3 separate regions of the Homo sapiens genome follow, and all the other regions are linked to region 1. The links are contacts of gene promoters, found by promoter capture Hi-C in blood cells and fetal thymus (Javierre and others, 2016). All regions are on one chromosome and are shown on one strand. The core of a region is centred on a gene start or on the middle of the fragment in contact, and the rest is flanking DNA. Distances in the headings are between cores, read along the strand shown. Region 1 holds the start of GSX1 (GS homeobox 1). Region 2 has its middle 180 kb from the start of GPR12. Region 3 has its middle 130 kb from the start of USP12-AS1.

Region 1 (4,474 bases), core at 1,452-3,951:
AGTGGCGCGGCCGCCCGAGAGAGCCCGGGTAGCGGCCCCCGGAAACCAGGCGGCGGGCAGAGGCCGCGGGGTGGGGAGGCCGGGTTGGCTGGGTGGGGAGGCCGGGTTGGCGGGGCGGCCCGGACCTCCCGGCTGCCCGCGCTAGCACCTGCCCAAGGCTCGGGTCTCTCAGAGGCACGGAGCTTTCTCTGCGGAAATGGCCAGGCTCCTGGGCGCGCTGGCGGCCCTGGACCGCCAAGCAGGGAGCCCCCTCTCCGGCCGCGGCCCGCCGGGCTGAGAGACCACAGATTAAGTGCGCCTTGGTTCTCTCAGGGATGCTATTTTGCTCCGGCCCGGGTCTCTCCCGCGCCGAGTTGCACAACAAACCATTTAAACATTTCAGCACAAAACCCGATCCATTGTGGGGCCGCACATTAAAAAGTGTTATTCGCTTTGAAGTTTTTGTCTAATGGCTCTAAACTGAAAGAAAATGTTTTCCTATTACTTAATTCAATCATAGCGAAGAGACTTGGTAAAAAGCCCACGGATTTTGCCCCAAAGTGTGACAGAGTTCTCTTTGTGTTTGCTTATCCTTCGCTGTCACACACTTTAATTCGCCTCTCTTTATCTGGCATTCAAAACTTTCTTCAATGACATTCAATAAGGTCCAGAGGCTGGAGAGAGGAAAAAAAAAAAAACCTGGTTATTCCCCCCACCCCCACCCCCACCCCCATATTCTTTCCCAGTAGCTTTGGCCTTGCTCGCATTCAGGGGCTCTTAACCCCTTCCTCCCCGGGCACGCGGGGCGGCTGCCAGTGGAGCTCCACGCTGGCCACTCGCGGGCTCCCAGCTCCGGGTGCAGTGCCCGCCCCTTGCACCCCTGGGCCCCGCCCGCCCTTGCGCCCCTCCAGCCTGCCTCTGCCCAGCGGAAAGCCCCTCTCCCCGCCCGGGTCTCGCTCTTCGCTTCCTCTCAGCGACCCAGCCCAGCTCAAATTTCCCAGAGAGCAATTAGAACGGGAATTAGGCTGCATTGATGCGTTCCGGCTGGTTTGCAGGCACCACCCTAGAGTGGGGGAGCCTTGGCGCTGAGACTCTGTCTCAGAGGGCAGCCTTGCCCCCCACTCCATGCCAAGCAACCAAGAAAACATTGAACCCTTACTCCTGCTAGATGCCATGCCCTCCATGCAGGTTACTTCTCCCATTGTCCTATTCCCTTTTACAGAAGCAGTTATTATCTCGCAAAACAAATTATCTTTGCTTTTTAATCAGTTATAATCTGTTGCTGTTGTTATTGCAAAGATGTTGCCAAGGATAAAAGCCCATGCAGATGCTTCGGGTTTGGGCAATCTTATTCCTGCGCACTGCTTCCCCAGACCCCTAAGCTTCCCCCTCCATTTCTCACAATTCCATTCAGGGCTCAGAGCAGGTGACTGCAGCGATTTGGTTCCAATAAAATCGAAAGTAAACGTCTCCTGTGAAAAGTCCCGGGCTGTAAATTAGAAATGTTTATGCTGATTTCCCATTGTATGGAAAAAGCTCCTGGGCGAAACAGCTTTGAGCCCGAGAACGATTTAAAAAGCTGGAGCTGTGTACACAGCTCTGAGCGTTTGAAGTTGTTTAACCATTGTGTGACCAGAAAGAAGAGTGACGCGGCAGGAAGAAGAAGCCGGGTCTTGGGGAGAGCGGAGGCGGGTCAGGGTGGGCAAAGGCAGCCGATGCCAGGAATACAACCGCCCTTCGCGCCGTTCCAAACTAAGAGATGGCAGCGGTTTCCCAGCGCACTGCTGGAAGTGTGCTCCAGTAGACAGGGTGTGGGCAAGATGCGCGGGCAGACAGTCCGCACTCGCCACATGTGCTGGGGTGCGAGATCTAGATCTGCGCCATCTCGGCTTTCATTCCCCATTCCCTGTCTCTGTTCGTAACGCTCAGAGACTGTTTTTCCTCTTTTACATCCACGGCCCTGTCATTTGAAGGAAAGGGCTGGTTGGCCAGCATCTACCGAACAAAGACTGGGCGTCGTAGGCAGCACCAAAATTAAGACTATTTGAGAAACTTAGAGAAAACCGAGGGACAGCGATGGGTCTAGGGCTGGATAAGGAATAATGAGCCCTTCTCCTCCCTCCCCACAGACGCCTCCTTCACGCGGGAACCCGGTCCTCCTTCTTCCGACGCAGAGAGAGAAGCGATTCCACAGGTGGAAAATCTGAGACCGGCTGGAGGGAGGTTCGGGGGTGCACGGCACTGAGCTGACAGGGCTGACTGGAGACAGCATACTTTTGGGGTGTAAGGGCGATAATAGAAAGAAGGGGACCAGGACCAAGTGGACAGAGGATATGAGGGTGTGCGCCCATGGGGATCTGTAGAAGAGAGGCCGCGGGGGTGCAAAATCAGTAAGGTGAACGGGCTGATGGCCAATGCAAAGCCAAAGGGGAGTAAGAAATAAAGAGAAAGGAAAGAATATTAAATCGCGGGAGAATGAGAAAATAAACCCGCAAAAGGGAGAGGAGGGGGCGAGGGCGCCTGTTACGGCGTGGGTGGGGTTGACAAGAATAGAGTACATTATGCAGTTCATTTAGTTAACAAGTGAAATAATGAGGAAGCGTGCAGAGTGAATGCCAAGAGAAAAGGCACAAAAACCCTATTGAGAGGCCCCGGCCGCTCCTGGCGTAGTCCATCACATGGCAATAGTCCTATTTAAGCCGCGCCGCCGGCGCCTTTCAGCACCACTAGCGCTGGCCAGCACCCCGCGCTCTTTGGGCGGTGCCCACGGCAGCAGAGGCTACTGTTTCAGCCTAGGTCTCAGCCGCGCGTTCAGCCTCCTGGGCAGAGGCAGCTGCGGGATACCGCGGCCAGGGAAAGCGCGTGGAGAGCCGAAAGGTGCGGTGGGCGCAGAGGGCGGGCTGGCTGCGGGGCGACCGCGCGCCGGGGCCATGCCGCGCTCCTTCCTGGTGGACTCGCTAGTGCTGCGCGAGGCGGGCGAGAAGAAGGCGCCCGAGGGCAGCCCGCCGCCGCTCTTCCCCTACGCTGTGCCCCCGCCGCACGCGCTGCACGGTCTCTCGCCTGGCGCCTGCCACGCGCGCAAGGCTGGGCTGCTGTGCGTGTGCCCGCTCTGCGTCACCGCCTCGCAGCTGCATGGGCCCCCCGGGCCGCCCGCGCTGCCTCTACTCAAGGCTTCCTTCCCACCCTTCGGCTCGCAGTACTGCCACGCGCCCCTGGGCCGCCAGCACTCTGCTGTGTCGCCCGGGGTCGCTCACGGCCCGGCCGCCGCTGCTGCTGCCGCCGCGCTCTACCAGACCTCCTACCCGCTGCCTGACCCCAGGCAGTTCCACTGCATCTCTGTGGGTAAGCGGGGCCGCCGCGCAGAGGGACCGGGCAGAGGTGATCCGAAGCAGGATGGAGAGCCAGAGATGGAGGAAGAGGGACCCTGGGCTTTCTGGGGGCGGTGAGGGTCATGTCGGGGACTAAGGGGGGCGCTTGGGGTGGAGTGAGGATAGAGGGCCGGGACACAACGCCAGGAGGCGGATGAGGGCAGACGTCCAGGTCCTGGAGTGTGGGCCGGGGTAAGTGAGGGCTGGGATCCAAGGCTCTCCATGAAGGGGAAGGGGTTCCAGGGCTGCATGACTCCGGGAGAATCAGGATCTCGGAGCTGGACAAGGAGCGCTCACTGTAGCTCTGCTGTGGATTGTGTTGGGGCGAAGAGATGGGTAAGAGGTCAAAGTCGTAGGATTCTGGCGACCGCCTACCAAGGGATTGGGTCCACAGCACAGAGGTCTGATCGCTTCCTTCTCTGCTCTGCCACCTCCAGACAGCAGCTCTAACCAGCTGCCCAGCAGCAAGAGGATGCGCACGGCTTTCACCAGCACGCAGCTGCTAGAGCTGGAGCGCGAGTTCGCTTCTAATATGTACCTGTCCCGCCTACGTCGCATCGAGATCGCGACCTACCTGAATCTGTCCGAGAAGCAGGTGAAGATCTGGTTTCAGAACCGCCGAGTGAAGCACAAGAAGGAGGGCAAGGGCAGCAACCATCGTGGCGGCGGCGGCGGGGGTGCCGGTGGTGGCGGGAGCGCACCGCAAGGCTGCAAGTGCGCATCGCTCTCCTCAGCCAAGTGCTCCGAGGATGACGACGAATTGCCCATGTCTCCGTCCTCCTCAGGGAAGGACGACCGGGATCTTACGGTCACTCCCTAGGCGCGTGTCTCCCTAGGTCGCCCACCCCAAGACCTCCCTGCGCCTCGGAGACTAGTCCTGGGACTCAGCGCTGATTCCCAGGCACCCGCAGCCAAACCACTGCCTGGCATGGATTTGGCACTGCTTTGCAGAGGTCCCGGGCCTGGGCAGGGCTGAGAGCTTGGCAGAGACTGGACCATGGCGTCCCCGCCCCAGGGCTCGCTCGTGTCCAAAGCCAACTCCAAGCTGTGAACACTGTAAGCGCTCGAGTCCTCCTGGGCAGTGCAGCACCGCGGCCCCCGCCCGCAAGCCTGCTTGGCGCAGCGCC
Region 2 (4,474 bases), core at 1,024-3,523, 860 kb before region 1:
TTCTCACTCTATTTGCTCCCACAAGAGCCAGTTGTTAAAAAGAGCCTGTCACCTCCTCCCTTCCTCTTGCTGCCTCTCTCTCCATGTGATATCTGTACATGCAGCTCCCCTTCACCTTCTGCCATGAGTAGAAGCAGCCTGAGGCCCTCACATTGAAGCATATGCTGGTGCCATGTTGCTTGTACAGGCTGCAGAACCATAGGCCAAATAAACCTCTTTTCTGTATAAATGACCAGTCTCAGGTATTCCTTTATAACAACACAAACAGAGAGAAAATTAGTACCAGGGAGTGGGATGTTGCTATAAAGACACCTGAAAATGTAGAAGTGGTTTTGGAACTGGGTAATGGGCAGAGGTTGGAAGAGTTTGGAAGGCTCAGAAGACAGAAAGACAAGGGAAAGTTAGTAACTTCTTAGAGATTAATCAAGTCATTATGATCAAAATGCTGATAGAAATACAGATAGTAAAGGCCACACCCCAAAACTTTGGGAGGCCAAGGTAGACATATCCCTTGAGCCCTGAAGTTCAAGACCAGCCTGGGCAACATAGCAAAACCTCATCTCTACCAAAAATAAAATAAAATTAGCTGGATGTGGTGGCACATGCCTGTAGTCCAAGCTAGTTGGGAGGCTGAGGTGGTAGGATTGATTACTTAAGCCTGGGAGACAGAGGTTGCAGTGAGCCAAGATTATGCTGCTGGACTCCAGCCTAGGTGACAGAGTGAGACCTTGTCTCAAAAAAAGTAAAAAATAAATTTTTTAAATAAGAAGCCCACACTGCCATGTTCTCAAGATGGAAATAGGGAACTTATTGGGAACTGGAGCAAAGGTCCCCCATGTTACACCCTAGCAAAAAATTTGACTGCTTTGTGTCCTTGCTGTAGAGCTTTGTGGAAGGCTGAACTTAAGAGTGATGACCTAGGATATCTGGAGGAAGAAATTTCTAAGCAGTAAAGTGCTCAGACTACTGTGTGTTTACTTCTAACTTCTTACGGTAAATTGGTAGAGAAGAAGGAAACAGGGCATAAAAATTTGGAAAATTTGCAGCCTGGCTGTGTCAGAGAGAAGGAAAGAGCATTTTCAGAAGAGGAATCCAAGGGTGCTATAGAGCAATCACTTGCTAGAGAGATTAGCACAGATAAAAGGGAGCCAGGTACTAATAGTCAAGACAATGAGGAAAAGGCCCCAGAGGCATTTCAGAAATCTTCAAGGATACTTTTCCCATCACAGGCTCAGAGGTCTCAGAAGACAGAATTATTTTTGGGGACAGGCCCAGGGTGCTGCTGTACTGTGCTGCCTTGAGATACTGATACTGCTCTTCATATCCAGGCCACTCTGGTTCCAGCTGTGGCTCAAACAACTTCAGGTTATGTTCTGGCCAACACTCTGAAGGGCACAAGCTGTAAGCCTTGGAAGCTTCCACCTGATGTTAGTCTGCAAACACACAGGATGCAAGAATGGTGGGGGCTTGGTGGCTTCTACCTAGATTTCAGAGGATATATCTGAGAGCCTGGGTACCCAAGCAGAAGCCTATCATAGGGATGGGGCCCTCACAGAGAGACTCTACTAGCGCAGTGCTGAGGGGAAATGTGGGGGAGTTGGAGCCCCCACACAGAGTCCCCACTGGGACACTGCCTACTGGGACTGTGGGAAGGGGGCTGCCGACCTATCATTGTCAGAAGTAACTTGAGACCGTACCTGGAAATCCTGCAGGCACTCAACTACAACCCATGAAAGCAGCCACAGGGGATGTGCCTAGAAAAGCAATGGGACTAGGCTGCCCAAGGCCTTGGGAGCCTACTCCTCACACCAGTGTGCCCAGGGGCATGGCATCAAAGGAGATTATTTTTAAGCTTTAAGGTTTAATGTCTGCCCTGCTGGGTTTCAGACTCGCATAGGGCCTATTACCCTTTTCTTTTGGCTGATTTCTCCATTTTGGAATCGGAGTGTCTATCCAATGCCTGCACCACCATTGTATCTTGGAAGTAAATAACTTGATTTTGATTTAATAGGCTCACAGTTGTAAGGGACTTGCCTTGAGTCTCAGAGGAGGCTTTGAACTTTGATTTTTGAGTTAATGCTGAAATGAATTAAGACTTTTGGGAATATTGGCAAGAAATGATGGTATTTTGCATGTGAGAAGGACATGAGATTTGGGGTGCCAAGGGCAGAATGCTATAGTTTGGATGCTTATCTCTCCAAATCTCATGTTGAAATTTGTTCTCCAATGTTGGAGGTGAGGCCTAGTGGGAGGTAGTTGGGTCACAGAGGCAGATCCCTCATGAATGTCTTGGTGCTGTCCTCACAGTGCTGAGTGAGTTCTTGCTCTATTAACTCCCATGAGAGCTGGTTGTTAACAGAGCCTGACATCTCCCTGCTCTCTCTCTCTTTTTCTCTCTCTTGCTTCCTCTCTCACCATGTGATCTCTGCACACCTCAATTCTTCTTCCCTTTCCACCATGAGTGGAAGCATCCTGAGTTCCTCACCAGAAGCAGATACTGGGGCCACACTTCTTGTACAGCCTGCAAAACTGTGAGACAAGTAAACCCCTTTTCTTTATAAATTACCCAGCCTCAGGTATTCCTTTATAGCAACACAAATGGACTAAAACACTTAGCAACCAAGACTACTCCTCACTGGGGCTCTTTCAGGGTTCTACTCCTGCTTCACCAGGTCCCACTGGGTCTCCTTTAGGAGAAGCTTCTCCCAGCAGCTCCCATCCCACTAGGAGTCCAAAAAAATGGCCAAAGCTTTCAGTGGACTCAGGTCCTGCAGTATCATACACAAGGCCACTCAATGATCTCTCATCTGAATAGGCCCCAACACAACCAGCTCCCCCACCACCACCACAGGGGCCAAGCCTTCCCACTCTGCAAACTTCCTGCTCTTTCTGAGGAGGATGCTGATTAGACTCTGAGCTGTTTGAGTATGGAGTCTTATGATTTAGAAGGCAGTTTCTGCTTTATTCCACTGCGGCAGCCTCTGCCAATAATGGGACACTGTTGAGAGCTGACAGGCCTCTGACAAGCGCCATTGTTTTTTCATAGGAGTTCATGTGAAAATAGCTTCATATTCTAAGCTGACATATAGTCACTTTAGGTAACTAAACTAACTTGCTCTGTGAACAGTAACAGTCAGTGCTGGGCTTCTGTTCATTCCGTTGTTCCCTATTGTTCCATGGCAGGAAATGTTGTTCATGAAACCCATCTCTCTCCTTGGGCACACAACTGGATTATGTTTCCCAGCCTCCCGTGGTTAGGGTGGTCATGTAACTGGGCTCCAGCCTGGCCCATGAAACCTTCCTGTGTATGGGTCTCTGTGCTCTTTCCCCTTCTGCCAGATCATAAAAAAGAGCATGAAAATGATTTGCAGAAGATGGGGAAGCCACTAGATTAATGATCCTGGGATGCTGAATCACTACCTGAAGGAGAACCCTTCTCTGATCTGGAAACCAGTTATAAAGTAGGTTCATCATGTACTGGTTACCAACCAACTTGTCTGAGTCCAGCGAGACAGAACACACACATGTGCAACAAGTTACATAAAGCAGATTTATGACGTGCAGAAGGCAGCAAGGGACAAAAGAGCATAAGATTCACTGTGAGCCAGACCTTATATTAGTCCATCCTCACACTGCTATGAAGAACTACCTGAGACTGGGTAATATATAAAGAAAAGAGGTTTAATTGACTCAAATTTCTGCAGGCTGTAGAGGAGGCACAACCTGGGAGGCCTCAGGAGAGAGAGAGACAGTGAAGAGGCAAGTGCCACACACTTTTTTTTAACTTTAAGTTCCAGGATACAAGTGCAGAATGTGTAGGTTTGTTGCACAGGTATACATGTGTCATGGTGGTTTGTTGCATCTATCAACCCATTGTCTAGGTTTTAAGCCCCGCATGCATTAGCTATTTGTCCTAATGCTATCCCTCCCCTTGCCCCCAACCCCCCAACTGGCCCTGGTGTGTGTTATTCCTCTCCCTGTGTCCTTGTGTTCTCACTGTTCAACTCCCACTTATGAGTGGGAACATGTGGTGTTTGGTTTTCTGTTCCTGCAATAGTTTGCTGAGAATGATGGTTTCCAGCTTCGTCTATGTCCCTGCAAAGGAAATGAACTAATTCCTTTTTACTGCTGCATAGTATTCCATGGTGTATATGTACCACATTTTCTTTATCCAGTCTATCATTGATGGGCATTTGGGTTGATTCCATGTCTTTGCTATTGTAAATAGTGCTACAGTAAGCATATGCGTGCATGTGTCTTTATAGTAGAATGATTCATAGTCCTTTGGGTACCATTTGACCCAACAATCCCATTACTGGGTATATAGCCACACACTTTTAAACCATCAGAAGTCATGAGACCTCACTCACTATCACAAGAACAGCAAGGGGGAAATCCATCCCCATGAACCAATCACCTCCCACCAGGACCCTCCCCCAGGATTGAGAATTACAATTCAACATGAGATACGGGT
Region 3 (4,474 bases), core at 1,095-3,594, 790 kb before region 1:
ATCTGACTACTCTAGGTTCTTCATACAAGTGGAGTAATTTAGTCTTTGTCCTTTCTTGACTGGCTTATTTCACTTACCATAATGTCCTCAGGGTTCATGATGTTGTAACCCATGCCAGAATTTCTTTCCTTTTTAAGTCTGAGTAATATTTCATTGTGTGCATATGCCACATTTTGAATTTTGAATGAATTTTATCCATTCATTCATTGTTGAGCACTTGGATTGGTTGCTTCCATGTTTTAGGTATTGTGAATAATGCTACTATGAACATGGGTGTACAAATATCTCTTTAAGACCCTGCTTTGAGAATATACCCAGAAGTAGGATTTTTGAATCATATAGTGGTTCTATTTTTCATTGTTTGAGAAACCTCCATACCGTTTTCCACAGCAGCTGCACCATTTTCCATTCCCACCAACACTGTACAAAGTTTCCAAGTTCTCCAAATGATCACCAACACTTGTTATTTTCTGTTTTTTGTGTTGTTTTGTTTTGTTTTGTTAGTAGTCATCCCAACAGGTGTGTGGTTTTATCTCATTATCATTTTTATTTGCATTCTTCTTATGATTAGAGGTATTGAACACTTTTCATGTGCTTATTGGCCATCTGTATATCTTCTTTAGTGAAATATCTATTCAAGTCCTTTAGATGTTTTTGCATTGAGTGTTGACTTTTTTGTTGTTGAGTTTTAGGAGTTCTCTATATATTTTGGATATTAATCCCTTATCAGGTATGTAATTTGCAAATATTTTCTCCCACTCTGTAAGTTGTCACTTTACAGTATTTATAGTATCTTTTGATGCACAAAAGTATTTAATGGTCATGAAGTCCAGTTTATTTATTTTTTTAACCTGTGCCTTTGGTGTTATACAAAGGAAATCATTAGCAAATCCAATATCATGAAGTTTTCCCTATGTTTTCTTATAAGAGTTTTATAGTAATAGCTCTTACGTTTAGGTCTTTGATTGATTTTGAGTTAATTTTTGTATATGATGTTAAGTAAGGCTGCAACATTATTCTTTTGCATGTGAATATCCAGTTTCCCCAGCACAGTTTGTTGAAAAGACTGCCCTTTCCCCATTGAATGGTCTTGACACCCTTGTTGAAATCATTCAACCATATATGACAAATCAACCAAAAATGGTTTATTGGGCTCTCTATTTCATTCCATCTGTCTATATGTCTCTCTTTATGCCACTGCCACACAGTTTTGATTAGTGTAGCTCTGTAATAAGTTTTGAAATCAGGGAGCATGTGTCCTCCAACTTTGTTCTTTTTCAAGATTTTCTTGGCTGTGGTATTTTTAGCTTTAATTTCACCATCTGCAAAATGGGGATGATATTTGCACCTGCCTCACTGGATCACGTGTGTGTGTGTGTGTGTGTGTGTGTATTAAATGAGGTAAGATGCGCAAAGCACTTAGCATTTTGCCTGGAATATAGTAAGTTATATATTTAAAATATTTAAAATTTCTATTAACATAAAATGATACAAAAATTCTTTAAGGATTTATTGCCTCTTCCAAACTGTGGAATTCCCACAACTGTGATGTATCTTTTGTGACACGTACATCTCTGAGAAGACTCATTTAGAATCTATTACTAAATACTAGGGTACATGTCAGCTTCCCTGTGTTTACTGGTCCCATCTCAGCATGAACAACTCTAGACTAGGGAAGTCACACCAGTGTTCAAACCAAGCTTTGCCACATCATAACCAAACCCCAGGATGAGACAGTCTCTCTGTGCTTTTGGTTTTTTAATATTTTTTAAATGGGCATAATAATACTTTCTTCAGAGTCTTTTAGGGTGGGGGCAGGTGAGGGTGAGTTTATGTAATGTGTATGGAAAGCCTTAGCTCTGCACCTTGCACAGTCAGCACAAAATAAATTCCTCCTGCCTGCCCATCTCTCCCTGTCCCCTTTCAATTCTGCTTCAGACAGCTTGTTTCATAGCTTTTCTGCATCTCCCATGAAAGAGGCGCATGCCACGGTCTCTGACATGAGAGAATTCACTATCTCTTTAAGGAAACAAGAATAACCTCCTAAAACAGAAGCAAAACAACCCCACATCCTGCCCTTGAGGAAGCGCCACGTCCCTAAGGGTTTGAGGAGTTGACCACTGGTTCAGCAGTCACCAGGCCCTGCTCAGCCAGGCATCTGAAGACCATGGTGTTCTATGTTCTAAAACACGTCCCAAGGGCTCATTTACATATTCATCAGGAAGTAGCAATTGAGGGTCTGCCACCCAGATTTGGACCCACCTGTCCCCCTGTCTCATACGAAGGCAGATCAGCACAAAAATACAATCCAGAATGATGAGTGCAGTGGGGTTAGAGCTGGATCTAACACCAGCCTCCATCTGCTTCTGTTTCCTGAGCTTCTTCAAGGAAAAAAAAAAAAAAAAAAGCTAGAAACACAGAATTTTCTCTCTCTCTCCTTTTTTTTTTTTTTTTTTTTTAGGCATCTGGTCCTGGCTGGAGTGCAGTGGCAAGATCTTGGCTCGCTGCAACCTCCATCTCCTGGGTTCGAGCAATTCTCCTGCCTCAGCCTCCCTAGTAGCAGAGACTACAGGCATGCGCCACTATGTCCAGCTAATTTTTGTATTCTTGCAGAGACAGGGTTTCACCATGTTGGCGAGGCTGGTCTCAAACTCCTGACCTCAAGTGATCCACTCATCTCGGCCTCTCAAAGTGCTGGGATAACAGGCATGAGCCACCACGCCCAGCTGAAACACAGAATTTTCCTAGTGAGTTAGGTCCAAGTGACAGAGCAACCCACAAGTTTTCCAGGTACCGTGTTATTGTGTGGATGCCCCCAGCTTGAGGTGCAGATTGTCTGGGAAAGCCCTGAACCCTCTCCCCTCAGGCACGAGCATGAGGCTACCTGAGGAGGGACCGGAGAGGTGGGTCAGCAGTTCCCTCCTCTCTGCTGCCCAGAAGTTCGACAGGAAAAACAACATCCTAAGGCACCAGCAGTCGTGCAAGAACAAAGCTTCCAGCCCAAGGTTCTTCGCACTTCCTCTTCCCTTGCTCCACCTAAGTCTTCGTCTCTGTGAAGTGATGTGCAGTTGCTGTGCTGGGAAACAAATCTCCTGACTCTGACATAAAAGGACGTGTTTTGTGCCTTGCTTAGTTTCAAAGGTGAAGTCAATAAAACATCGATGATGCTGGCACCATGGACAGGAATAATGCCCCCAGGGCCCCTTCTAATTATTGGCTGTAAAATTTTGTATTCCGCCTTGAAAGAATGTGAACAGTTACTCTGTTAAATTAATGGGAAAACTGTCCAAAGTATGAGATAATTAATAGTTTATCTTCTATAATATTCTATAATACAAGACAATGAGATGATTTAAAAAAAAAAACTTCAAATTTTAAAAAATAACGGCAAATGTCCTCACCATGGAGGTTCATGAACCGGGCGTCCTTGTTCACCTCCACGGCGGTGAGATTCATTATTCCCTGGGACTGTGACACAAGGTCCTCCCAGGACATGCTGGTACCAGAGAGGAAGCCAGGAAAACAGAAAGAGCAGGGAAGAGTTCATTTCGGGAGGAAAAAATACAGCCTGGAAGCATTTATTAAAACCTGGGCTTTATGTTATTCAAAATTTGAGAGGAGAAAAGATATTTACAGACTCTGCAGCAACTATATTTTTCATCAGACACCTCAAAGTATTATTCAGATGTTTCAGATGTACTGAGGTATCAAAATTCTCAAAGATATAATTTTTTTACTCACCAAACATGAAACAATGTCTATTGATCATTCAGAAATTTTGAGGACACACAAGGACTATGGGTTTACAACAAAATATGGAGACTACAACTTATAAATTGCTAGTAAAACACAGTCTCTCTCTCTCTCTCTCACACACACACACACATATGCGCAAACACACAGAACCCACAACCCATGCCAACACCACTGCCCCTTAAAAGATGTTTAATCCATGTTCTTAACCACGTTATACAGTTTCACAAACTTGGTCACAGCTCTGAATAATGGAAATAACTCCAATAACCTTTGGAAGCTTTAGATAATTCTGCAAAACATGGCGGGACTTTAACTCTAGTAAGCGCAGGACAGCTCTGGCTCTGTTCTTTTACTACTTACATGGCAGCTTCCACCCAACCAGGATGCCACACATGGCCCATCCAATCACCCCAGCACACGTGGCGGTGAACTTGGTCTTCCTGACAAAGAGAGGCAGCCAGCTCACAGAGCAGCAGAGTGTGACCCAGTCGGGGACCCAGGGCATGCTCATTCTGCCCTTGGGAAGATGGCCAGGCCCCTTCCTGTATCTCAGCTGCTTCTCTCAGACCCTAGGTTGATGATTCCGCATCTGAGTTGCTGCTTGGGTAAAAAGAGTAGGATTGTGGGGGCATACGGACCACACCATCAGATATGGGCAACAAATATCTTAAAATGAAAAAGCAGTTTGTGACCTCATGGAGTGTGGATTCATTTCTGC

The links. Contacts are between HindIII fragments. The CHiCAGO score rates a contact against its expected background, and 5 or more counts as called.
Region 2: a contact is called between a fragment that was not itself captured here and the fragment with the promoter of GSX1 in region 1, in 1 of 17 cell types (erythroblasts). The highest score is 5.9, in erythroblasts.
Region 3: a contact is called between a fragment that was not itself captured here and the fragment with the promoter of GSX1 in region 1, in 2 of 17 cell types (fetal thymus and naive B cells). The highest score is 5.3, in fetal thymus.

The regions. Positions count from the first base shown.
Region 1 is chr13:27,789,782-27,794,255 of GRCh38, forward strand. It overlaps GSX1 (GS homeobox 1), which reads left to right and starts at 2,702. Exons shown (of 2, transcript NM_145657.3): 1 at 2,702-3,321; 2 at 3,785-4,474. The coding sequence starts at 2,910. The coding sequence ends at 4,167. RefSeq lists an enhancer at 2,629-3,432. The HindIII fragment of the contact is 6,142 bases long and covers 1,360-4,474 here.
Region 2 is chr13:26,934,648-26,939,121 of GRCh38, forward strand. No RefSeq gene overlaps it. Among named protein-coding and RNA genes, the nearest start is that of GPR12, 180 kb to the left of the region's middle. The HindIII fragment of the contact is 847 bases long and covers 1,851-2,697 here.
Region 3 is chr13:26,995,481-26,999,954 of GRCh38, forward strand. No RefSeq gene overlaps it. Among named protein-coding and RNA genes, the nearest start is that of USP12-AS1, 130 kb to the right of the region's middle. RefSeq lists an enhancer at 1,856-2,125. The HindIII fragment of the contact is 1,292 bases long and covers 1,699-2,990 here.